Linked DNA regions of Homo sapiens: all the other regions are linked to region 1. Evidence: promoter capture Hi-C in 16 types of primary human blood cells and fetal thymus (Javierre and others, 2016). All regions are on one chromosome and are shown on one strand. The core of a region is centred on a gene start or on the middle of the fragment in contact, and the rest is flanking DNA. Distances in the headings are between cores, read along the strand shown. Region 1 holds the start of SLC35A1 (solute carrier family 35 member A1). Region 2 has its middle 2.0 kb from the start of RNGTT. Region 3 overlaps RNGTT (RNA guanylyltransferase and 5'-phosphatase). Region 4 overlaps RNGTT (RNA guanylyltransferase and 5'-phosphatase). Region 5 overlaps RNGTT (RNA guanylyltransferase and 5'-phosphatase). Region 6 overlaps RNGTT (RNA guanylyltransferase and 5'-phosphatase). Region 7 overlaps RNGTT (RNA guanylyltransferase and 5'-phosphatase).

What was found. Contacts are between HindIII fragments. The CHiCAGO score rates a contact against its expected background, and 5 or more counts as called.
Region 2: a contact is called between a fragment that was not itself captured here and the fragment with the promoter of SLC35A1 in region 1, in 1 of 17 cell types (non-activated CD4 T cells). The highest score is 6.5, in non-activated CD4 T cells.
Region 3: a contact is called between a fragment that was not itself captured here and the fragment with the promoter of SLC35A1 in region 1, in 3 of 17 cell types (naive B cells, naive CD8 T cells and total B cells). The highest score is 6.6, in naive B cells.
Region 4: a contact is called between a fragment that was not itself captured here and the fragment with the promoter of SLC35A1 in region 1, in 2 of 17 cell types (total CD4 T cells and non-activated CD4 T cells). The highest score is 5.4, in total CD4 T cells.
Region 5: a fragment that was not itself captured here is called in contact with the fragment with the promoter of SLC35A1 in region 1 in 6 of 17 cell types (total CD8 T cells, monocytes, erythroblasts and 3 more); the score reaches 9.9 in total CD8 T cells.
Region 6: a fragment that was not itself captured here is called in contact with the fragment with the promoter of SLC35A1 in region 1 in 6 of 17 cell types (total B cells, activated CD4 T cells, erythroblasts and 3 more); the score reaches 8.9 in total B cells.
Region 7: a fragment that was not itself captured here is called in contact with the fragment with the promoter of SLC35A1 in region 1 in 1 of 17 cell types (fetal thymus); the score reaches 5.0 in fetal thymus.

The regions. Positions count from the first base shown.
Region 1 is chr6:87,471,579-87,474,972 of GRCh38, reverse strand. It overlaps SLC35A1 (solute carrier family 35 member A1), which reads right to left and starts at 1,999. Exons shown (of 8, transcript NM_006416.5): 1 at 1,954-1,999. The coding sequence starts at 1,969. LOC124901357 (a long non-coding RNA gene) reads left to right here and starts at 2,028. Exons shown (of 2, transcript XR_007059668.1): 1 at 2,028-2,200; 2 at 2,475-3,394. RefSeq lists enhancers at 1,131-1,230, 1,281-1,450, 1,446-2,352 and a silencer at 1,901-2,040. The HindIII fragment of the contact is 12,962 bases long and covers 1-3,394 here.
Region 2 is chr6:88,963,965-88,967,358 of GRCh38, reverse strand. No RefSeq gene overlaps it. Among named protein-coding and RNA genes, the nearest start is that of RNGTT, 2.0 kb to the right of the region's middle. The HindIII fragment of the contact is 1,429 bases long and covers 918-2,346 here.
Region 3 is chr6:88,918,345-88,921,738 of GRCh38, reverse strand. The region is part of intron 4 of RNGTT (RNA guanylyltransferase and 5'-phosphatase); the gene reads left to right. Among named protein-coding and RNA genes, the nearest start is that of RNGTT, 44 kb to the left of the region's middle. The HindIII fragment of the contact is 1,920 bases long and covers 655-2,574 here.
Region 4 is chr6:88,890,464-88,893,857 of GRCh38, reverse strand. RNGTT (RNA guanylyltransferase and 5'-phosphatase) reads left to right here. Exons shown (of 16, transcript NM_003800.5): 7 at 1,943-2,052; 8 at 3,262-3,363. Among named protein-coding and RNA genes, the nearest start is that of RNGTT, 71 kb to the left of the region's middle. The HindIII fragment of the contact is 4,119 bases long and covers 1-3,394 here.
Region 5 is chr6:88,872,746-88,876,139 of GRCh38, reverse strand. The region is part of intron 8 of RNGTT (RNA guanylyltransferase and 5'-phosphatase); the gene reads left to right. Among named protein-coding and RNA genes, the nearest start is that of RNGTT, 89 kb to the left of the region's middle. The HindIII fragment of the contact is 1,147 bases long and covers 1,071-2,217 here.
Region 6 is chr6:88,855,347-88,858,740 of GRCh38, reverse strand. All of the region lies in intron 8 of RNGTT (RNA guanylyltransferase and 5'-phosphatase), which reads left to right. Among named protein-coding and RNA genes, the nearest start is that of RNGTT, 110 kb to the left of the region's middle. The HindIII fragment of the contact is 1,302 bases long and covers 894-2,195 here.
Region 7 is chr6:88,775,200-88,778,593 of GRCh38, reverse strand. All of the region lies in intron 12 of RNGTT (RNA guanylyltransferase and 5'-phosphatase), which reads left to right. Among named protein-coding and RNA genes, the nearest start is that of RNGTT, 190 kb to the left of the region's middle. The HindIII fragment of the contact is 233 bases long and covers 1,521-1,753 here.

The DNA of each region.
Region 1 (3,394 bases), core at 750-3,249:
TGATTCCAAAAACAACAAAGTGAATATTTAAACACTAAACCAAATATTGATAGCCTACAAACATATTCTGACTTATAATATTGTCATTAACTTGAAAAAATACCTTTTTGCATAGTGAGTATATGGGAATATATATTATATTCTTGAAAATAACTACTGATCTAAGTGGAAGGGTAATCAAATAAGTTTAGGTATGTGCAAAACAGATTGGGCTTTGACATGGAATACCAGTTTTTAAACGTATTTCAACTTTTAAATACTAAATGTTTTTAAGTACGATTTTCTCTGGCAGTTTAACATCAGACCAAACTATTTCTTGTTCACTCCATTCACAAATTCTCCAGTATAAAACTTCAGTTATTAGCAATTTCAATTATTTCAGGGTAACAGCAAAAGTCCATATGTAATCACTTCAAATTGGGCAAATAATTCAAATCACACCCAATGCCAGTAACTATAAAGCTAGCCCACAACTCAACTGGCAGCCACATCTTAACCCTGCATTGTTCCCTGCTTCTCACGAAATTCTATTAGCTCCCATATAGTGTTTGTGTGGAAATGTCCCCCAAAAGAAACTTACAGTTTAAAATGTTTTTTTTCGGTTATGTTTTACTATAGTTTATGGGGACATTATTTGTAATACTTAAGAACTTAGAAATTCTGTAAGTCCCAGATAAATCCTTTGTGGATATTCGGAAACTATGGAAACTGTAGTTTTGTTAGGATTACAATCAAGGCTCAACAAATATGTATTGGCAATAAGCCTAAACCTTTACATTGTTGCAGCTATTTCAAGTAATGATTTGACTTCTGTAATTTATAAGTTTTCGTTCGGATCAATTTTGCTATCCCCATTCCATTTTAGTTATCAAAACAATTCTATTTCTTTTTCTTTTATTTCCTGTGTTGCTACAAAAAAAGGCTTTTAAGATTGGACTTATTTGAAATGAAACAGAAAGAAGACATAAGAGAAGCATATGCAACTAAAGACAATGCCCCTGGGCAGGGCCTGATGAGAAACATGGACCCCGCAACAGGGAAAATAACTTGAAACCCACGCAAGAAGATATTCCTTATGTATTCGTTCAATATTTATTCAAGGGTGAAGCCAAGTGCTCTATGGAGGAAGGGTGGAGCAAGAATCCGGGTGTTGCCCAACTTCTCCTGGTTAATGCACCACAGTCAAAGAATCCACCTCTGGTCCCAACTTACACACACTGCTCAGCAAAAAGTGGTGCGGAGTCAATTAGACTCGCCCTCCTTAAATGTCAATTAGTCAACAAATACGCCTTCACCCGAATGTGCCATCCCTCAGGAGGAGGGAGGTGGATCTCAGCTTCCACCCCAAATAGCAGCATACAGCATTCTCTATAATTACACACAGCATACAGGTGGGAACTGTTAACGACTGTTATCTTCCTTTCGTTACGATTTCAGTGCTGTTTTGACGCCCCAGTGATGTCTTTAGTGGTTGTTGCATGGCCCAGCCGCCGCATGGGATCTGCGCCCGGAGCCTGCCTTTAAGCCTCTGAGCATCCACAGGGTAGGAGGCGCAGAGGAGACCGGAGCCGCGGGGCCAGGGTGAAGAACTGTCCTGCCTCGCTGGGTAATGCGGTCCAGCCCCGGACCCACGCCCTGGCCTCTCTCCGGGTCCGCCGCAGCCCCGGCCTGTCAGAATTCGGTTCCCACCCACTCCCAGCTAGTGGAGGTCAGTGCGGTCTCTGACTCCGACCTGCCCAGCGCGGAGTCAGCCGCGGAGACTGCAGCCGCAGCGGAAGGCAGGCTGCCCTGACTGCCGGGAGCGGCTCCACGCAAACTCCTGACGCCTCAGCCAGGCCCCAGAGGCACTGGGCAACCAGGGTGCTCCGCTGCCCGACAGGGGCTGACCAGCGCAGATGCTCGCCCGCCGCCGCCCCCCGCGGACTCCCCACTCCCAGCAGACCCAGTTCTCACCTCTCGGGGCAGCCATGGTTCCCCGACAGCCCCCCGCGGAACTGACGCCCGCCCCCTCCGCGCCCCCGCGCAGGACACCGGGGACCGCCCCTTGTGGTCATAGAGACGAAGCCGCTCGGCCTAGAGCGCCTCGCCGGCCTCCCGGTCGGCCACGCACTAAAACTGGGCTCAGGAATCCAAGCTACACCCCAAAATGGGGAGAACGCGGATCGAAGGGAGGCCTTCCCGGCCGCGTCCTAGGTGACAGGTGTGTGAAATTCGGTTGGGGAGGTAGTTCTGTAAACTGCGTCTCCCCGCCAGCTAAGGAAGTTGAGTGAAGGGAGCGTTGCCGTCTGGGAATCGTAGTCCTCACAAAGGCGTGAGTAGGCGGCAAATAAGGATTTGGGTTTAGCCTTGGGGATTCACTCCTGTCAAAGCTGTTAGAGAAGCTCCCAGAACTCGTAAAGTAACAGAAACTACTTGCGGCAACATTTGTAACTTCCACCTGGCTCATTATCTTCCACTGTTACCTTGTGTTCTAGATAAGTTATAATTTATTCTACATATCGTTCAGAAGTCTTGTGCCTGTTCCATATCGTCAGCAGTCATCGGTTGTATTTACCCAGCCAGGCATTCTAACTAATGATCTTCGCACAACAAAACGGCCTTTAAAAAATCAGATGTATCGGCCGGGCGTGGTGGCTCACGCCTGTAATCCCAGCACTTTGGGAAGTCGAGGCAGATGGATCACCTAAGGTCAGGAGTTCGAGACCAGCCTGGCCAATATGGCGAAACCCCGTCTTTACTAAAAATACAAAAAATTAGCCGGGCGTGGTGGCGCGCACCGGTAATCCCAGCTACTCAGGAGGCCGAAGCGGGAGAATCACTTGAACCCGGGAGATTGCAGTGAGCCGAGATTGCGCCCCTGCACTCCAGCCTGGGCGACACAGCGAGACTTCGTCTCAAAAAACAAAAAAAATTAGATATATCAACAGGCATTTTAACCACTATAATCTCCACTTTCACTAGGGGATGTTAATTAGCTATCATAATTGATATTAGAAATAATTCATTGGTGAAATAAATGATGTTCAAGATATGTGGATTGGTTTAAAATAATATGAAAATACCTCAGCACTTACAGGAATAGGGATGCAAGATTCTGAGCTGCCCAGCAGCCCACACCTTCTGCAGCATGTTCTTTCCCCAAAATTGTCCTTTTAGAGGGTTGGTTGTATACCATTGTCTTGTTAAATATACATATAGATATATCTGGTCTGTTAACATTGTTGGAACATTTTGCATGCCTTATTAGCATCATATTAATATTGGGAGGGGCTCCCAGGAGACCAGAGTTGACTTTGTAGAGGCAGACATTTGATTAATCTCATTTTGCAATAGTGTTGGACTTTTCCTCTACCTGGTAGTAAGTGTGCTCACTGGTGCTAATCTTCCCTTATTG
Region 2 (3,394 bases), core at 383-2,882, 1.5 Mb before region 1:
CTTCCCTTTAAAAAATATATGATCTAAGCACTTGTCTTCCTTTAGGCCAATTAGAGTTTTTTTTTTTTTTTTTTTTTTTTTTTGAGACAGAGTCTTGTTCTGTTGGCCAGGCTGGAGTGCAGTGGTACAATCTCAGCTCAATGCAACCTCTGCCTCCTGGGTTCAAGGGATTCTCCTGCCTCAGCCTCCCAAATAGCTGGGACTACAGGCACGTCACCACACCTGGCTAATTTTTGTATTTTTAGTAGAGACAGGGTTTCACCATGTTGGCCAAGCTGGTCTCAATCTCTTGACTCTCAAATGATCTGCCTGCCTTGGCCTCCCAAAGTGCTGGGATTACAGGCATGAGCCACCACACCTGGCCTTAGAGCTCCTTTTTTTTTTTTTTTTTTGAGATGGAGTTTTGCTCCTGCTGCCCACGCTGGAGTGCAATCTCCACCTCCCAGGTTTAAGTGATTCTCCTGCCTCAGCCTCCCAAGTAGCTGGGATTACAGGCATGTGCCACCATGCCTGGCTAATTCTGTATTTTTAGTAGAGATGGGGTTTCTCCAAGTTGGTCAGGCTGGTCTTGAACTCTCGACCTCAGGTGATCTGCCTGACTCAGCCTCCCAATGTGCTGGGATTACAGGTGTGAGCCACCGTGCCTGGCCTTTGAGCTCTTTTCATAGACATCATGTACACAACATATATATAGCTACACAGACAGGCAGAAGAAAACCAGTCCCCATAAGATCCTTTTTCACAACCAAACTTTAAGGAGAATATAAACAGGGATCCTTATCATTCCTAGCCTAGTGAAAAAGAAAAAAAACATCTGGTTTAAAAGTTAACTGTTGATGGGGTGAAGAAAAAAGGATGCCTGGGGGAATAAACCTTTTATTCTTAGGCAAATGGTTCCTCTACCAGGGAGAGAAGCTTATCAGATGGAGTTGAGCCTTGGCCAGGGAAGGGGAAGATGCTGTGGACATGTGGCATTCCCCAGCCCCAGCTGGGAGGGGAGAGGGAATGAGGAGCTGCGACTTGCCTATCCTTCCCAAAAAACGAAGGCAAAGGCCATGGAAAGGCCCCTGACCCCAGGGAGCGATGGGAGTGGGGGCATGGTTTCCCTACCCTCAGAAGTCCACGCATGAAAAGGCTTAGAAATGACAGTGAAAAGTTTTGAGTCCCCGTGTCACTCAACCGCTTCTCAAGCCCCACATTGGGTGCCAAAGCTGTTGTACGACTTTCTCCTTAGTTCAGCTAAGAGCTGGGTCCTGGTCACATGGCCATGAAATATTAGGCTCACAGATGCCTTGAAGGGTGAGAATGGAATTTATTGGGCAAAAAGAAAAAAAGGGAAACAGAGACTCTCCCCAAAGCCAGAGTGCTTCCTGCCTGGTAGACTGAATCCCAGGTTCCACCTAGGAAAAGGAGGGGCCAGGCTCCTCCCCACTGCAAATGGCGCAAATTTCCCAAGGCTCCACCACAGGGTGCATTCCTCCCAGTGCTCAGGTCAAAAGGAGATTCTGCCAAGGAATCCTTCCCACCTGGCTGTCTTACCAGCACTTTGGGAGGCTGAGGTGGGAGGGCTGCTTGCAGGAGTTCCAGACGAAAAAAGTATAAAAAAGTTAGTGGGGTGTGGGGGCCTGCACCTGTAGTCCCAGCTCCTTGGGGGCTGAGGTGAGAGGATTGCTTGAGCTTGGGAGGTTGAGGCTCCAGTAAGGCTGCCCTGATCATGCCCACTGCACTCTAGCCTGGGTGAGAAAGTGAGACCCTGTCTGCAAAAACAAAAGATTTATCTACATATCAAAGTGAAGAGGAAGGATTAATAAATATAGGTTTTTCTCAAGGAAAAGTCCTAGGAAAAGGGAAGACAGATAAGATCTCTCTCTTTTGCCAAAAGAGAACGTTCAATCTTATTTTTTACATGTACACACTCTTCCTTATGGGCAAAATGGATGTTTGATGAAAGACTCACCAATGAAGAGAATCTACATCTGATAAAGAGGAGATCAAGACATATCTGGGAGGGTGTCAGGGGTTCCAGGAAGCGGGGGAGGAATCATGTTGGTCTGTCTGTGAGCATCTATTTTTCTTCTCACAGAGTAGTAGAAACTTGGGACTAGGAGCAATATAGGCAGAAACACACATCAGGCAAGGCATTCCTGACAGGCAGAGAGAAACTGCCTGCTCATCGGGATGCCACTCTCCTACTCTACTCTCTATTGTGGACAAAAGGTAGCCACAGGGTCCTCCCAATTCTGTGGCAATGAGTATGGAGAGGGCATAACTGGATAGCAGAATAAAAATCCAGTGCACATTGCTGCCTTACAGCCAATAACAGTTGCTCGCCAGTGGTATGAAGCTTCTGTGTGCCTAGGACTGAGCTACTGGGTATAGCGTGTGTGGGAAGGGGAGTCACCAAGGGGAGTCATCCCCAGAAGGGGAAGGTAAGATACTCTTCCAGGATCAGGCTCACCTTTCCCATCCTTGGAGGGGGTCTGGGGATGGAAGGTTTTTACCACTTTGGGCATGGTACACACTCTATCAGCAGAAAAGGGAATTCATCGGAGATTATTTGGGTAGACTGATGGCCTTAAAGGAAACTGGGTATTATCTTGTTCTGTCAGGGGAGGAGTTTACACCTTCACTAACAGTTCTGAGCAGATGCAACAGCAGGACAGACCAGAAGTGTGACCTAACTCAGGCTGCCTCAGAGAGATTGCTGTTGGACTGCCTCTATTGATGGGACTCTTACTGAGGGGGTCCAGGCATTCAGGGGGTTGAGCGTCCCAGAAAGTTCCCCACCGACGCTTTAAAAATGTATTCCCTGCAGCCTTACGTTCTTGCAGTTCCAATATAGCATTGGTGTTTAAAGCCAAACTACATTATAATTGATTCGCCATCATCCAGCTTTATATTTAACACTTTAATCTGGTAACAAAGGAAAGGCTCGTTAAAGGACGGCATTTATAAAAATTTTTCAAGCACCTCTGCTTAACTCGAAGGGAAAATAAAAGGCACTGTTTATTTGGTAGGCCAAGGAGAACAACGCCACGAAGAGGTTCTCCACTGATCAATTCCTACCTTTGTCAATTATACCACATTAATTAGTAACTTTTTTTGGAGACATGGACCCTCTCAAACTCCCCAGTATGCTTTGAAACTTTGATCCAGAAATGTACAAACAAAACTCTAAGTGTTCTGGAATTAATTTCAGAAGCTTCATAGATCCTCGTAAGTACTCACCAAAAGAAAAATTCCCCATTTCTGGTACTCCAATCTCATGTCCTTAGAATTCTCCTAAGACTTGTTCCCTTGAACAACTTTCCCTAATTGCAAATCAAACCTAGATCCGGCTGGGACGCCAAGCTTGAGCTGTGGTAACGCTCAGAAGGCCTCTTTTCATCAGTAA
Region 3 (3,394 bases), core at 365-2,864, 1.4 Mb before region 1:
CAAAAATATTATTAAGGGTGGAGGATGAAAAAAAATCAGCAAAATGATAATTACCAAAGAGGGATGATGGATACATGAGGTTTCATTTTTCTATTCTCACTGCTTTGGGTATGTCTGCAAATTTCCATAATAAAAAAAAAATTTGAGAGTACTGCCCCAGAGAAGCTAACAGTATGGTAAAAATTGAAAACATCTGGTTCTAAGGGTTTCAGATAAGGGACTATGAAGCTGTAGTTACTGCTAAGGATTAGAAAAGGTTTCAAGCTTCTGTGTGTTTCAAGAACTTTATATTTCCATGAAGCCTACAGCATTAGCCCACAGCCTCACCAATTATCAACTGATAACTGAATCAGTTGTCAACTGTAATTGATAAATTAACAATTATATCAGCTAATTCAAAGATTACTTTTTTTTTTTTTAAAGACCAGGTCTCACTATGTCACCCAGGCTGGGATTTTTTTTTAAAACCAAGACAGCTTTGAAAAGAAACCTGAGTCTAACCTTTGCCACATCACAAATGTTTACTACTGGTCACAAATATTGATCAGCAAGAGTTTGTGCAAGGCTGATAAAAATTCCTTCTCTGAAACTAAAAATAAATGAAAGTACTATAAAAGCAGGACAGTATTTTCAGATCCTAAGACTACTTAAGCTTGATTCTTTAGTGCTTTTTATTTAGAAAGGTGTTATCAGCAATCAGTTCTGAGACTAGTTTCTGTTATTGTCTCTACAGTAATACTATAAGAAATAACTGGCAATACATCCTGTGCTCCAAAATTTGGCAGGCCCAAAGCAAATGTTTCCAATTCAATCCACATGAACAGAATCACTGCCGGGAATATAAAACAAAATATATATATATCACTAGGTTCTATAAATTTTATAACCTGTAAACACTCAAAACAATTAGAAGTTTTTCTTATCAGTTCTTCTAAGAATACAACTGCACAATTTATAACAAGGATGAATTTGTTTTCCTAAACCTGGAGTATGAATCTTTCTAAAATCATGACATCTAATGCCAGAGGTTAAAATTGCTTGACTGCCCTCCTTTGAATTCATTAAGCATATTTAATGTTTACCCCTATAATGGCTTCTCTCAAATGAGAAAACACTTCTGTGAGTTGTTTTTACTTATTCAGATAAAGGCCTCAGTATTACCTTAAGCTGTGTAGGTTCTAGTCATATACCTCAATATATGTGTATGTATGTGTGACTGTTATATATATTCATATAAATGTATGAATATATATACACACATCCTTAACATATTTCATGTATATCTCATAATATTGTTCTGTTAAATAATAGCTGCATACTGTACCATATAAATAACCTGCTTTTTTCAAAACAACAAATACAGTATAGTAACTGTTCACATAGCACTTACATTGCATTAGGTATTATAAGTAATACCTAGAGGTGATTCAAAGAAAACGGCAGGATGTTCATAGGTCATATGCAAATACTATGCCATTTTATACAAGGCACTTGAGCACTGAGCATCGGAGGATTTTGGTATCTGAGGGGGATCCCAGAACCAATCCCCTGAGGAGTCTGAGGAACAACTGCATTAATTTTTTTTGCCTTTATTGTATTATATTAAATAATTTTTTAGAGACCAGGTCTGGCTATGTTGTTCAGGCTGGACTTCAACTTCATCCCACAAATTGTAACAATTAAAATTGTCTCTAGACATTACAAAATGTCCCCTGGGGGGCAAAATCTTCCCCAGTTGAGAACTACTGAATCCTCGGTGCAGTGGCTCACGCCTGTAATCCCAACACTTTGGGAGGCCGAGGCGGGTGGATCACCTGAGGTCAGAGTTTGAGACCAGCCTGACCACCATGGTGAAACCCTGTCTCTACTAAAAATACAAAATTAGCCAGGCGTGGTGGCGCATGCCTGTAATCCCAGGTACTCAGGAGGCTGAGGTAGAGGTTGTAGTGAGCCGAGATTGCTCCATTGCACTCCAGCCTGGGCAAAAAGAACAAAACTCCGTCTCAAAAAAAAAAAAAAAAAAAAAAAAAAGAACTACTGACCTAATTAGACTGATCAAATAATTAGGATTTTTAGCATTAAAAAATTTATCTAGCTAGTGAGATAGAAATAAAATTGTGGGCCAGGTGTGGTGGCTCATGCCTACAATCCCAGAAGACCAAGGCCAAGGATCTCTTGAGCCCAGGAGTTCAAGACCAGCCTTGGCAACATAGAGAGACCCTGTCTATACCCCCCACACCCTCCAAAATAGTGTATGTTGAGATCAGGCTTTATTTAAAAAGATACATTGTCACCAGCCCCTTTATAAACTGCCCCAACATGTATAGCTATAGCTAATCTCTCTGTCTATTTGTTGGGGAGTTTCTTTCCCTAGTTTGATTGTAAATGCCATATACATTTATTTCATTATATTAGCTTGCCTGGAAAAATTTGAATAGAAGTTGCCTTGAAATAGTTAATTGTGAGCTAATATTTAGTTAAAAACTGTGGCTTACTTACCACTAGATGGACCCATTCTCATGATGAAGAAAACTGAAAATTGCTTTAAACAAAAACTGAAGACGTATCTAAGCTTGTAGTATACCTAATTAATGGATTTTTTAATATCAAATACATAATCTCCCACATTTTTCTATAGTGGTTTGTTTTGATGGTTTTGTAACTTTATAACCCTATCTATAAATGTTTTGATGTATAACTGAACCATTAGACTAAGACTTTTTGTATTTGCATATAAAGAATATTAAAAGGAAAATGGTACTTTCCTAGATTACATATCTTCACATGACATATTAGCTAATTGGCAATTATTATTACATTTCCTATTCATAAAAATATTTAATCTTGCAAGAGTAAAAATTGGATACAAAAACAGTAGCTTAGGTGAGAAACATCGAAAGTTGAAATATTTGTTGCTTGAATTGGTCTGAAATAGAAGATAGTAAGGAAATTTACATGTTGGGTTAAGATACATGAATACAAAAATGTGTTTATAGTGCACATCTTTGTGTGGCTTTTTTGAAGCACTTTTTCTTACAAAGCAATGGAGATAATGGAATTTATAGATTTTCTTGGTCATAGCTATTTATTTCTAAGTGATGTCTTCAGTTCAAGGCTGATCTCTTTGTTTTTTATTTTCTTCTTTCAGAAACTTAATTTCACTTATATCGTTTCTATTATTGTCAAGCTTTGTGGTTTAACTAGGTTCTTGTCCTGAGCCTGTAAACATACCTAAACTTGTTAAATAATCCCCTCCCGCTGAAAAAAACCCCGTACCCTTCTTTCTGTTTTGCATTCCCTCTTCCCTTTCTCAGCTGACTTTTTAAAAGAATCTATACTTGAATCCATTTTTTCCTATCCACTTTGTTGCAGTCTGGAGTCCTCCCTCAGCACT
Region 4 (3,394 bases), core at 526-3,025, 1.4 Mb before region 1:
TACCAAGGATGATTTGTGTATGAAGTGTATCATACTTTTTTTTATTGGACTTCTACCTTTCTTTTTACTTATTTGTTGTGGAAGAAAATAGAGGAAGTTAAAAAAGAAGTTGATGCATGGTAGGAAAGATTAAGGAAGAAGAACAATAAATGGATGACAGACATTTACTAGGTGATTGGGGTTAACTTTTATAACCAGACTCAGTAGTTGTTAGATCTGTACTGATGCTCAGTATTTATTGGCTCTGTTAAATTAAAAATATTCAGCTTTTTCAACCCCATAGAAATGTTATTAAAATATTTCTGTGGTAATATTGTGGGAAAGTGCTTGGTTGAATGTGATCATATTTTCTATGTGTTAGTCCTTTTTATTATATGTTAAAAATATAAATAGTGTTTGTGTTTTTAGTAGTAACTTAGGTTAATTTGGCCTTTGCTTTTATTTTGCCCATTTCAGAAGTTAATGTAAATTTCTTAACTTTGCATAGGAAATCCACGTTGATAAATGAAGCTAGAGACTTTCTTTGTGTAAAACTTAAAAAGAACATCTCATGCTGTTAATACCATCAGAATTAGGATGCTTAATATTGAACTCTCTAAAAAGAAGTGTTCTTTTTTAATTAGCATAAGAAACAATTTTTTAAGGATATTGAAATTATCTGAGCACTCAATAAGTAAATATGTTACAAACCTCATCTATCTGGTTGAGCTTTCTTTTAAAAATACTCTTTTTTTCCTTTAGCTGTTGTACTTAATGATAAAAATGGTTTTAAACAGAAATGCCATTGGCTAGTACAGAGAAATAATGGTATAATAGTAGAGGGATGGTACTCTTTGATCCTTGGGCTTATGAAATTCCTAAATTTTGGTTATTTAAGGAAAGCAAAGTAGAAGACAGATAAGTACAAAAAGTGCTTCAAAATTAGGGACAAAAAGTAGGACTAGTGTCTGCTGGAAGGACTCAGGATTCTTCCAGATTTGACAAGAATGTATGTGGATGAAGTATTAATTGTTCTTTTTTTCTTTTCTCAAGTGGCTCAGATTGCCAGGTCTTTGCCAGAAGGTTGAACGTTGTAGCTTGTAGACTAACTTTTTTATTGCCTAATTACATTAACAGCTAGAATTGTTTTATAGATTTTTCTTAAGACTGATGCCAGTCCCTTTATGGACCTTAAAAGAACTGTAGCATACATCTAGACTATTTTTTTTAGGTTTAAAAATTTCCAGAAGGGTTCCTTATTTGTTTGATATTCTCTGTCTGCTTTACTTCGCTGTGATATTTCAAAATATGTAGTTCTGAGTTAAAAAATTTAGATTAAAAATTCCATGATGAGTAATATTTTGTTCTATTAGTATGTTAATATATCCAATGACTGTGGCTTAGCCACTTTGCCTACACTCTTACTCTGGTTTACAAAGATAGAGGTTTTGGTGTTTATCCCCTTAAAGTCCATACTTCATTCATAGTAACACAGCTCCTTTCCCCTTCTCTCCATTGGTGGTTGGTATAGTGTAGGCCTGTTCAAATTCTGTCTTTTACCACTTGATTTACATAAAATCTTTGTGCCTTATTTACTCATCTTTGAAATAAATACAGTACAGTCTATTTTTTCAGTGTTGTAAGGATTAGAGAGAATGTTTGCAAGATGCCAGACATTCTGCTTGGATCTCAATAAATGGTAGATAAATTATTATTACTGTTATGATTTGAGAAGTGCCTATAGAGTACATACGTATATTGAAGAAAACCATGTGCTGGATTTAGGAAAACTAGTGTACAATCTTAGGGGAGTTTATACAGCAGACCGTTTCTGTTAGATATATTGACTTGCTAAGATTTGTGAGAACAAACTAATTTATCTCTCAGTCTCTTCTTTGTAAATGAATTTGAACTCTAATAAAATATTTTTCTTTCCCTTATTTTTCTTATTTTTTTTTTAAAGGGCGCTATTTTCTTGGAAGGTGTTACTGTTAAAGGTGTAACTCAAGTAACAACACAACCAAAGTTAGGAGAGGTACAGCAGAAGTGTCATCAATTCTGTGGCTGGGAAGGGTAATAAATATTTTTAAATTTTTAAATAAAATTTGCTCTTATTTTACAACACTTAATACAAGCATTGACATATCTTCTTGGCTCCTTGAAGTTAGTATGTTTGCAATAGAATACTTTAAAGGTGTCAGATTTCGTTCAAGACAATCAATGCAATAACCAGACAGTTGAGTCAAAATTAGATGACTCACATATTTTCCTAAAGTAATAGAAAATTCTTGTTTTCACTGTCTAGTATTTGTTTCGTGTCTTTGACTCTACTGCTACTGATTAATGTTTGAGCTAGTCTCTCAATTTGATAAGAGGGAAGAGGTGAAATTTGGATCTGCCTCATTTTCCAGTTTTTCTGTAATCAGAAGTCTAGGAAAATCAGCTTTAAATATAAGCAGTGAATGCCATGACTTGAAAATATCTTTCAGACATTTCGTAGTGGATTCAGGAGAGCATACATTGCTCTTATCTGTTGCTCTCAGGTCTTGGCCTGTGGTCATTTCTGCTGATCATTGGTATCTGTGGCAGAGAACTGTAATACAGTTGAATGTAAGGAAAAAGGATTATTGTTAATTCCTAATATAAATTCCTAATGAAAAGAACTTTTATTACTGTTACATAAATACTAGATAAATCATCTAGAAGTAGTTTTAACTAAAATATGAAAACAATGAAGAAATAAGATCGGTTTTAATGTTGTGTTAAACCTTAATCTTGACCTACACCCTTGGTTTTAATGTTGTGTTAAGCCTTAATCTTGACCCATATTTCTCCTGTTTTGTCACTTCTGGGTATCTTTTGAGGAGAAAGTTGCCAACCTTGCAGTTATGTCAAGTTGGCAGTCTCACGTTGGGGAAATATGGGGTCTAGAATATCATGTAAAGTAATTAAGCCAAGATTTAAACTTCTTCCTGAAGTACAAGACTTGTAAACATACCTGCTTTACTATTTAGATCATATATACTAATATTTTAAAATTAGCTCAGTGATTATACCATAGCAGTGGTAATTTAGAACTCTGTTAACTTGCATTCTAAAATGTCAAGAAAATGATAATCTTTTATTAGTATTTTTGTGAAAGCGGATGTTATTCCAGCTGACATTAATCTCATCATAGGGAGAACATTGTGATAAATGTGTGATTCATTTGAGATTGGTTTAAGACATGTATTGCTTTGTATGGATACCAGCCACGATAGTAATACTGTGTTCTTCTTTAAGGTCTGGATTCCCTGGAGCACAGCCTGTTTCCATGGACAAGCAAAATATTAAACTTTTAGACCTGAAGCCATACAAAGTAAGCTGGAAAGCAGATGGTACTCGGTAAGTTAGACTTCTAAAAAAATTACACAAA
Region 5 (3,394 bases), core at 395-2,894, 1.4 Mb before region 1:
TCGATTATAGGGGCATTTAGACTCCAGTTTTTTTGTTGCTATAAATAACTGTACTGATCTTCTTATACCCATCTTTGCATAAATTTTGACAAAAATAGTATTACTTAGATATAGTATGGAAACCTTTGAAGTCCTTGATATACCTTGCTAGAGGTTGTAGTGATACACTCCGAACAGCAGTGCTTGAGTGTACATCCTTGGCAATTTGGGGTAGTTTCACTTAATATAAGTAATGTAGCCAAGTTGACAATTGGAAAATGAATTTTTTTCTTAAAAGATTTTATTGATGTAAAAATTAAAGGAAAATGAATTTTAAAATTGCTTTGATTAGCAGTTTTTTTTGAATACTAGTGTGGTTGCACAAGTTCATTCTGTATTTTGGCTATAGCAACAGTTATAACAAGTAATACTTGTTGAACACTTAATGTGTATTAGGCATTGTTCTGAGTACTTTACATAGAACATTTATCTCATTTAATACTCACAACGCTGTAAGATAGCATTGTGAATAAGTAGCTTTTTCAAGGTCACAGACACAGTTATTGTAAGTAGCAGGACTGAGATTTGAATGCAAGTGATCTGGCCCCAGAGCCCAGAATCCTTTTTGCCAGGTCATGTCCTCATTATTTTTTCAATATTTTGATAGTTATTTTTACTGTTTTATGCTAATAGATGAATTTTTCTGTCTTAAAATATATTTTTTCTGATAATGTCTTCTGTCTTCCTCATAAAACATTAAAAAGAAATTAAAAAGTTCTCCCTGTGAGAACTTTTATCCCACCCCTTGGGATAATCAATATTAAGAGTTGGATGTTTGGTTTCTCGAGACATTATACCTTCATCTTCTTACCTGCTGTTTTCTTTCCTTACTTTCTGATCCTCCATATAATGGGATATGATATAGGCTGTTCTCTTATAAATAAATAATAGAAAAACTCTATTATTTTTTTTTCAAATTGCTTTGTGATGGTAATTCAAATTGCATTGCTCCTTTCACTTAATGGGATAATAAATATATTTGCAGACAATATTTACTGCTTTAATAGATAACTGTTAAGCTACTGTAAGCTTTAGAAGGTCTCAAAGACAATACAAGACACTAGAGGAAAGTAAAAGTACAATTCCTACTCTCAGCAGGAAAATGAAGTACAATTTAAGATGTAGTAAGAGATATAACAAAACTATGTATAGTACCAGACAACTAAGTAAGAGATACTAAAGAGCTAATAAAGAGCATTACTTGATACTGTATATGAAATATGACTGCTTGTTTTGATTTTAAGAGTGTGATATTGGGTGTTCATAGATGGATTTTTAAATTTTATATAGGAAATAAGTAAGATATATTTAGTATTGAATATTGATATTTAGTATTGAGTAGTGCTGCTGACCAGATGGAAGAACATTTGCTTTGACCCATCTCAGCAGTAGAGCTTATCTGTTAGATGAGGTGTTAACTGGATTTTCATATTTTTTTTTTTTACGATTCTGTGATACTTTCTTAACTCATTATTTGCTCACATACTCTTATTCATTATGTGTGATTATGGAAGTGGCAAATGCTGGCTTGGATAAAAAAGGGGAAAAAACTTTATCCTCTTTGTGAATCTGTGAAAAATTGTTTGAAATAATTATAGTTGATTTTTCTAGAATGCATGCTTTATACAAAAGAAAACTGAAAGTAATCAGCGAGTCAGGGACAAATGTAAAATAAAACTTTTGGGAAAATTCTTTTGATCTTTTCTTTTCATGAAGATGGATTACTTTATAAAAATTAAAATGTTGTTTACATGCCTCTGTGATAGGTAGTGCTGCCCAGAATACGTTAAGTGGCTTTTAAATTTTATTCCATATCAAGGTAAATCTTTAGAGCAATAAATGTGGCATACCCTGATGGAAGATCACTTAAAAGAATGCTGTATTTTACATATTTAACTTGTATTGCTACAGAGTTCTGAAAAGCATAACCTGTTACATAAATGGTAATTAATGCAAATGAGTATATCATTTGATTTTACACTTTGAAGTCTAATGAAGACACTGTACATTCTCATTATGAGAGCTACTTAATCTGAAAGTAACTAATTAAAATAACCAAGAGAGGCTTCTTATATACAGAACTGGTTGATTCATGAGATTTATTTACTAGTATTGGAACCAATTACCTGATCTGTGCTACGAATAATAAGTTTGCAGTGTCCTGTTATTTTGCAAGCTTTTCAAATTCTCTTAATTAGGTCAAGATCAATGAGTATGTCTATATCTTACTAAACCTATCTTATTATTAATGGTAGTAGTTGAAACTTTTTCTAACTTGGACTTGATAAGCATTTTAGTAAAAATTTCTTTTTTGCCTTGTGATTCTGGTCTTATAATGAAAAAATGATAATGTCTTAAAAATGTGTTTCCCCATTATAAAAGTCATTTGTATTCATTGTAGAAAAGTTAGAAAATGAAGATAAGGAACAGGACAAACACGAAAAACATATGTAATTTCACCAGTTAGAGATGGTTGCTGCTTACATTTTGGTGTGTATGCTTTTAGACTTTTCCCTCTGTCTATATATATTTTTTGTTTCATTGACTAAATGAAAAACATATTCATTCCACAATTTTTTAAGTGTCTGTTATGTGCCAAGTACCAGGTTCTCTTATTTTCTTCCTTTCTTTTTGTTGAATTACTTATTCTGGTAATTATGCTTTTGTCAATAGTACATACATTCTTGTTCTCTGCCTGTACCTTTTCATGACAAATTGTTCTTGGTTTATGGTTGTGATAGCTTCTTGAATCTCTATGAGAATACTAGTTAAAAGCATATTTAAAGTTATCTTTCTCTTCCTTGAATCATCTTTCTTCTTTATGTTTCTAGTTTCTTCAAATGTGTGGTGATCCTTGGTTGGCTGTGCATTTGAAACGAGGCAGAGAAGCTGCTTGGAAGCTCCATGAATGTGGGCTGGGTTTGTCAATTTCTGACCTTTGCTTTATGATAAGCAGTTGTGCTTAGGTGCTCTTCCCTCACTACCCATTTGGTTCAGTTTCTTTTACTTTCTTTCTTTTTTTTTTCTGTTCACCCTCCCACCCTGTTTCAGTTTCTTTAGAGAAGAGCTCTCTGATTTTTCTTTTCTTTTGCTTGAGGAATAACCTGTGTGTTGTGTGTATGAGTTGTGAGAATTTAATTGTTGTACATAGCTAAAAATAACCAATCCCTCCTTTTCAGTCCATATGTCACTGTAGTCATCCTGTGCACTTGATGTTTCTGGGTCTGGATCTTCTTTGGGGTTTTGTAAAATAGGCACCTCCATCTGTGAATCCTGCTACCTCTGTGCATGCTTCTCAGCACTTTTCAGTACTTCTCCGTCTATTTCTTGTCAACCAGAAATTTATTGAAATAGT
Region 6 (3,394 bases), core at 295-2,794, 1.4 Mb before region 1:
GAGGGTGTACAAACAAACTATTGTCTAAATTTTAATATCAGCGTTGCCGTTGTGTCAGCGTTATGACATTGGGCAATGTCTCAGTTTCCTCATCTGGAAAATGGGGATAATAATTTTACTGACCTGGTGAGGTTGTTGTAAGGATTAAATGAGTTAATAAATGAGTTAATAAAAGTGCTCTTTTCTTCAGAACATAGTAATTGCTCAGTAAGTGTAACCTGTTGTTATTATCAGCTATGCATGAATTCCTCTGGAATGCCTTCCATGATCTCCAAACTCTGACAGGCTCTACCTTTGTAGGCTCCTGTAATAGCTTCTTCTTCACTGTTCTAATATGTATTATGGTTGGAATTATTTAATATCTTGTTTTCTTTTTAAGAGTGTAAATGATGTGAAGTTGAGAAGAGAGTCTGTGCCATTTGCTGTTATAACCCTAGCATCTAGTACTGCCTAGCATCTAGACTGGCTCCAGGTCGGCCCTTTAACTTATATTTTAAAAAATAATTGATTAAAAAATTTAAGAGAAAAGCCATAATAAGTTTGATAGGGGCTAGGAAAAATGGATAGAGATAGAGATGGTGGTGAAATAAATCAATGTAAATGATCAGCTTTTCTGTTTTTATTGCCCATCAAAATGCTCTAGTATGGAGGCTGTATGACAGAAGAAGAGGAATATCTGTTGTTTTGAAGCCACTGTGGTACAAAGAACAAGGGTTAGAATCCTGTCTTAATTCATTGCCACTTTGCAAAGGGAAAATGTTTCTCTGGGTCTGATTATAGACTACATTTCTGGCTTGGTGGCTTTTTTCCCCCTTGTAAAGCTTTAATTTTGCCCCCTGTGTCTAAAAGCAATTTGTGTTTATTTCTAAAAATTTTGAAAGTACAGAAAAGCTTAATGAGGAAAGCAAATATCATTGATAATTCTAATACATAGAGATGGGGCAGCTCTTACTATTTTGGTATAGGCTTTACTCTATATTTACGATATACATACAGTTTTGTCCTCCTCCTTTCCTCTGTAATTATTTAATGTATTCTGGTTTTAAACTTGCTTTTTTCCCACTAAATATATTGTAAATCTCTTTCCATATTAATGAATATTTTTATCATTGTTTAAAAAATGCTTGACTAGTATGCTTTTACATGAATATGCAATATTTATTTTACCTATTTGCTGAATGATGGACATTTGAGTTTTTATCCTTTCACTGTTATAAAATATTATGATGAACTTTGTTGTACATACAGCTTTGCTTAACAAATATTGAGTGCCTTCCTTTAGTGTGTATTCAGGTAGACTGTGCAAGATACTTAAGCTGTGAGAAGGAACAAAATAGATAGGATTTCTGCCTTCATAGAGTATAAGATAAATTCCTGAATTGATGATCAGAGTTGGGTCTAAATTGGTGATAACTTTAAATTACCAGGAGTTTAACGACCATTTTACTCTCAGACTACTGGGAGGAATGTGAATTAGGACTCTAAGGTGGTATTAGTTACCATTGTTTTCTGTCAGTTTTCCTTCTCTTTAATTATGTACTTCCTAATTTTATTAATGTATATTTGGTTGTTTTACTTAATTATATATCTCACATCTCAGCAACTGCTCTGAAAGATTATTTCCAGTTTTGGTAGAAAACCTGCATTTACAGTAAAGTAGTCTATACATCTGGCTTTTCTGTAATCCATATACCTTTGGTTTATATACTTTAGCATTTTCTATCTGGGAAACGTATACTGAATTAAATTTTGCCTTTTAATGGGAATGAATGAATATAATACAAATACCTATTGATAATTCTGAATATTAAATTTGCAGTTGAGATAATTTCCTAATTAATAAGAAATTATATTGCATCATAGTTATATACTAAGGCAGTATCTGACAGTTTGTGAGGTAGTTGCTTCTTTTTAAAGAATCTGGCTGCTTTCAGGGACTTTGGAGTGATGTGGAAATATTTCCACATTCCTTACATGAAATAGCTCCTTACTTTTTGTTAGTATCGCATAACAAAAGAACATATGATTTGGAATGACTGGAGTTCAAACTAAAAATCATAGCTCAGGAACTTGTGTTCCAAAGCCTGAAAATTTATGTGTGCAGAAGAATCCCTAAATACCAAGTGCTAAATAATTTCTCTGGTGTTTCTGCAGATGCAGAAGCTATCCTTTTGTAAATCCCGTCCTCTAAAGCTTTTTCTTCCTTAGTCTTTTAAATCTGTTTATACACATGTGTGCATAGAAAATATTTTCTTTTGATTGATACTCTACTTGATTTAAAAGAAAAGGTCTGATACTAAGATGTGTGTGTGTGTGTGTGTGTAAAATAAATACATCTTCACCCTGGGATAATACCTATTGTGTTTAAACATTAAATTTAAAATTCTCAACTTCTGGGCAGTCAGTGAAAGGGGAAATATAATTTCAGTTATCATTATTACATGATCATAAGAGTAAACCATTTCTTTTTTCTGAATTCTAACATTTATTAGCTTAAGTCAGCTTTTCTCAAATTGTAAGTATAGAATACCAATTCTGTCAAATTTTAACAGATATCAGGATTAAGTTTAGGAAACAATGGACTAAATAAGATGAACAGATTTATTTATATATTTTATCATAACTTTAAATATCCTAATATATATCTTGACGTTCTAAGAGAAAGATACAGTGGTTTCCTAACTTATTTGCCTTGAAATACCCTTTTGGTGAATATCAGCTTTGCAAAATGCCAGCCTAAGTCCTTAACAACATGATGGGTTGTGTGTCTTCCATGCCATTTTTGCAGATGATGTCATCATTGCTTTTTATTTGATCTTCCCTTTTGTTGATTTAAATTCCTTTTGAAACATAATCCAAGGCAAAGCTTACTTCTTCCAAGTAGCTTAGATTCTCTCTATCCACCAGGAATTGCTGCTTTTGAAAAGCATGTGCCAGAGGGTCTTGCGAACTAAGTATTCCTGTTGTCTGTGTGCCAGCTGGCCTGGCATTTGGTCTAGGAGTCTTTCAGATACACAGTCAGTCCAGACTGAGGCTGAATTTATTTTTCCTAGTGAAACCTGAGTCCCCACACTCCCCATCTACTAGGGCTGCAGCTATTATAGCAAGGGCCTGAGCTCTCCATCTGCTCCCCAGACACCTGCTGGAACTAATTATCATTATTATTAAAACTTTAAAAAAATTTTTTTCTATTATGTTGCCTTTTTTCCTTTCCTTTTTCTTTTTTCACTTTTTTTTTTTTTGGAACTGATTATTTTGGAAACAGCAAAGAACAACATACTTCACAATCTAATCCAAAAACATAAGCCCCTTTGGTCTTCCATGCTGCTCTTTTCCATTTTGTTTGTACACTTGTTTTCCCTTCATCAGCTCTCCTATTTCTCCTCACCTATCC
Region 7 (3,394 bases), core at 388-2,887, 1.3 Mb before region 1:
GCTTAAACTCAGGAGTTCAAGGCTGCAGTGCTGTGACTGCACCTGTGAATAGCCACTGCATTCTAGCTTGGGCAAGATAGCAAGACTCCATATCTAATTTTAAAAATTAAATTAAAAATTTGTTAGAATGCAATTTGACTTGGATAATTTAAAAATACTAGTATTGGACACTTAGCAATTTTTCCTTCCTAAGTATTTTTCTTATAATATGGCCCCACCCTCCATAATGCACACACTGAATTGGGAGACTTGCCTCTCCTTTAGCACATCCTATATTTCTCTACTCCTGTTTTTTTGCCCATATTTACTTCATGCTGCAAATCTGCATGAGTGAATATTACCCATCCTTCAAGGCTTACAATGTTCATTCCTCTATAATCAATTTTAAGACACTCAGGTAATACCTTTTCTTTTTTTACTTTGTACTCAGAATACATTTAAAATCCCCAAGTGAGATTTATCCCTGGGTTACAAGGTTGGTATAAACATATGCAGATCAATCAATATGATATACCACAGTAACAGAATAAAAGCTAAAACCACATGATCATCTCCACAGATTCATACAAAGCATTTGGCAAAGTTCAACATCTTTTGGGACAAAAACTTCCAATAAAATAGGTATAGAAGAAAATTTTCTCAACACAAAGGCCATTTATGAAAAGGCCACAGCTAGCATCACAATTAATGGGGAAGAACTAAAAGCTTTTCCTGTAAAATCCGGTACAAGGCAAGGATTCCCCATCTTGGTGCTTCTATTCAACATAATACTGGAGCTACTAGTAAGAGCAATCAGACAAGAAAAAGAAACAACAGGCATCTAAAATGGAAAACAAGTAGTAGAATTATCTCTGTTTGCAGATGACATGATCCTATATGTAGAAAAAGACTGTTACATCAAAAAAACCTGTTAATTCAATAAAGTTGTGGGATGCAAAGTTAACATACAGAAATCAGTTACATTTCTTTACACCAATCGATAACAGCCTATCTGAAAAGAGAATGAAGAAAACAATCTCATTTACAATAGCATCAAAAAGAATAAAATACCTAGGAATAAATTTAACCAAGATGGAAGAAATTGAAGATGATACACATAAATAGAAAGATATTCCATGTTAATGAATTGGAAGATTTACATTGTTAAGATGTCCATACTACCCAAAGTGATACACAGATTTGGTGCAATCCCTATCCAAATACCAATGACATTTTTTACAGAACTAGAGAAAAACAATTCTAAAATTTGTAGGGGACTAAAAACCCTGAAAAAGCCAAAGCAATTTTGAGAAAGAAGAACAAAGTTGGAAGCATCACACTTCCTGGTTTCAAGTTATATTACTAAGCTCCAGTAATTAAAATGGTGTAGTACTGAAATAGAAACATACACATAGACCAGTGGACCAGAATAGAGGGCCCAGAAATAAACCCAAGCATGTATGTTCAAATTTTTGACATGGGCACCAAGAATACACAATGGGGAGAAGATAATCTTTTCAGTAAATGATGTTGGGGAAGCTTGAATATCCATATACAAAAGAATGAAATTGGACCCTTATACCATACACAAAAATCCACTTAAAATAGATCAAATGCCTAACTGTAACACTTGAAACTGTAAAACTCCTAGAAGAAAACATAGTGGAAAAGCTCCTTGATGTTGGTCTTGGCAATGATCTTTTTGATGTTACATCAAAAGCTCAGCCAACAACAGCAATAATACACAACTGGGACTACATGAAACTAAAAAGCTTCTGCACAACAGGAAACAATCAACAAAATGAAAAGGCAGATTGGGAGAAAATATTTGCAAAGCACATATCTGATAAGGGGATATCTATAATATTAAAGGAATTCACAACTCAGTAGCAAAAAACAAAACAAAAACAAATAATCCAAGGACTTGAATAGACTTTTTTTTTTTTTTTTCCAAAGAAGCCATGAAAGTGGTCAACAGGTGGCTGGGCATGGTGGCTCATGCCTGTAATCTCAACACTTTGGGAGGCCAAGGTGGGTAGATCACCTGAGGTCAGGAGTTTGAGACCAGCCTGAACAACATGGAGAAACCCCATCTCTACTAAAAAAAAGAAGAAAAAAAAATGCAAAATTAGCTGGGCCTGCTGGCACATGCCTGTAATCTCAGCTACTTGGGAGGCTGAGGCAGGAGAATCACTTGAACCTGGGAGGCGGAGGTTGCGGTGAGCTGAGATTGCGCCACTGCACTCCAGCCTGGGCAACGAGAGGGAAACTCCGTCTCAAAAAAAAAAAAAAAGGTCAAAAGGTGTATGAAAAGGTGCTCAACATCACCAGTCACAGAGAAATGAAAATTAAAACGTCATTGAGATATTACCTCATGCATATTAAGATGGCTATTATCGAAAATACAAGATAACATACAAAATAGTTGGTGAAGGTGTGGAGAGTAAGGGTGTCCCACTGTTGGTAGGAATGTAAATTGGTACAACCATTATGGAAAACAGTATGGAGGCTCCTCAAACGATTAAAAACAAAACTAATATATGACTCAGCAGTTCCTCTGAGTATATACCAAAAGAAATGAAATTAGTACCTCATAGAGAAATGTATGCCCCCATGTTCATTACAGCATTATTTCCAACAGCCTGCATATGGAAACCACCTAAATGTCCTTCAGTGGGTCAATGAATTAAGAAATTATGGTATATTTATGCAACAGAATATTATTCAGGCTTAGAAAAAAAGATCCTGTCATTTATAACAACATGGATGGAGCTGGAGGGCATTGTACTAAGCAAGATCAGCCAGACACAGAAAGAGAAATGGTGTGTGATTTCACTTACATGTGGAATCTCAAAAAGTTGAGTACACAGAAACAGAATGCAAAAAACACCTATTATGAAGCTACTTGGTTAATAAGCTCTTTTAAATGGGGGAGAAACAAACCCAGTTGGTAACTCATTAATAACAACTTTTGATTATAGGTGATAAACTAATTCTGTACCTCCTTATTATAATTGAAACAGATATAAATTACTCTGTCAGTTCTAACTGTACCGTCTTCTGTGGTTAGAAATATAAAAAAATTAGCAAGCTCAGGTCAGAGGGAGAGCATGCTTTTTATCCCCCCTCTCAGTTGTGGGTATTCAAAGGGATTTGTTTTGTTGAAACTAGAAGCTACTGTTCAGGACTAGGAAGAAGGTTATCAGTGCTGAGGATGGGGGAGTTGGGGAGATGTAGGTTAAAGAGCACAAATTTGCAGTTACGTAGGCTGAATAAATCTGGAGGTCTAATGTACAGCACAATGACTGTACTTAATAATATTGTTTTATATACTGGAAGTTTGCCAAGAGAGTAGATTTCAGATGTTCTTGACACACATGTACACACATACAAGGTAACTGTGAGGAGATGGATA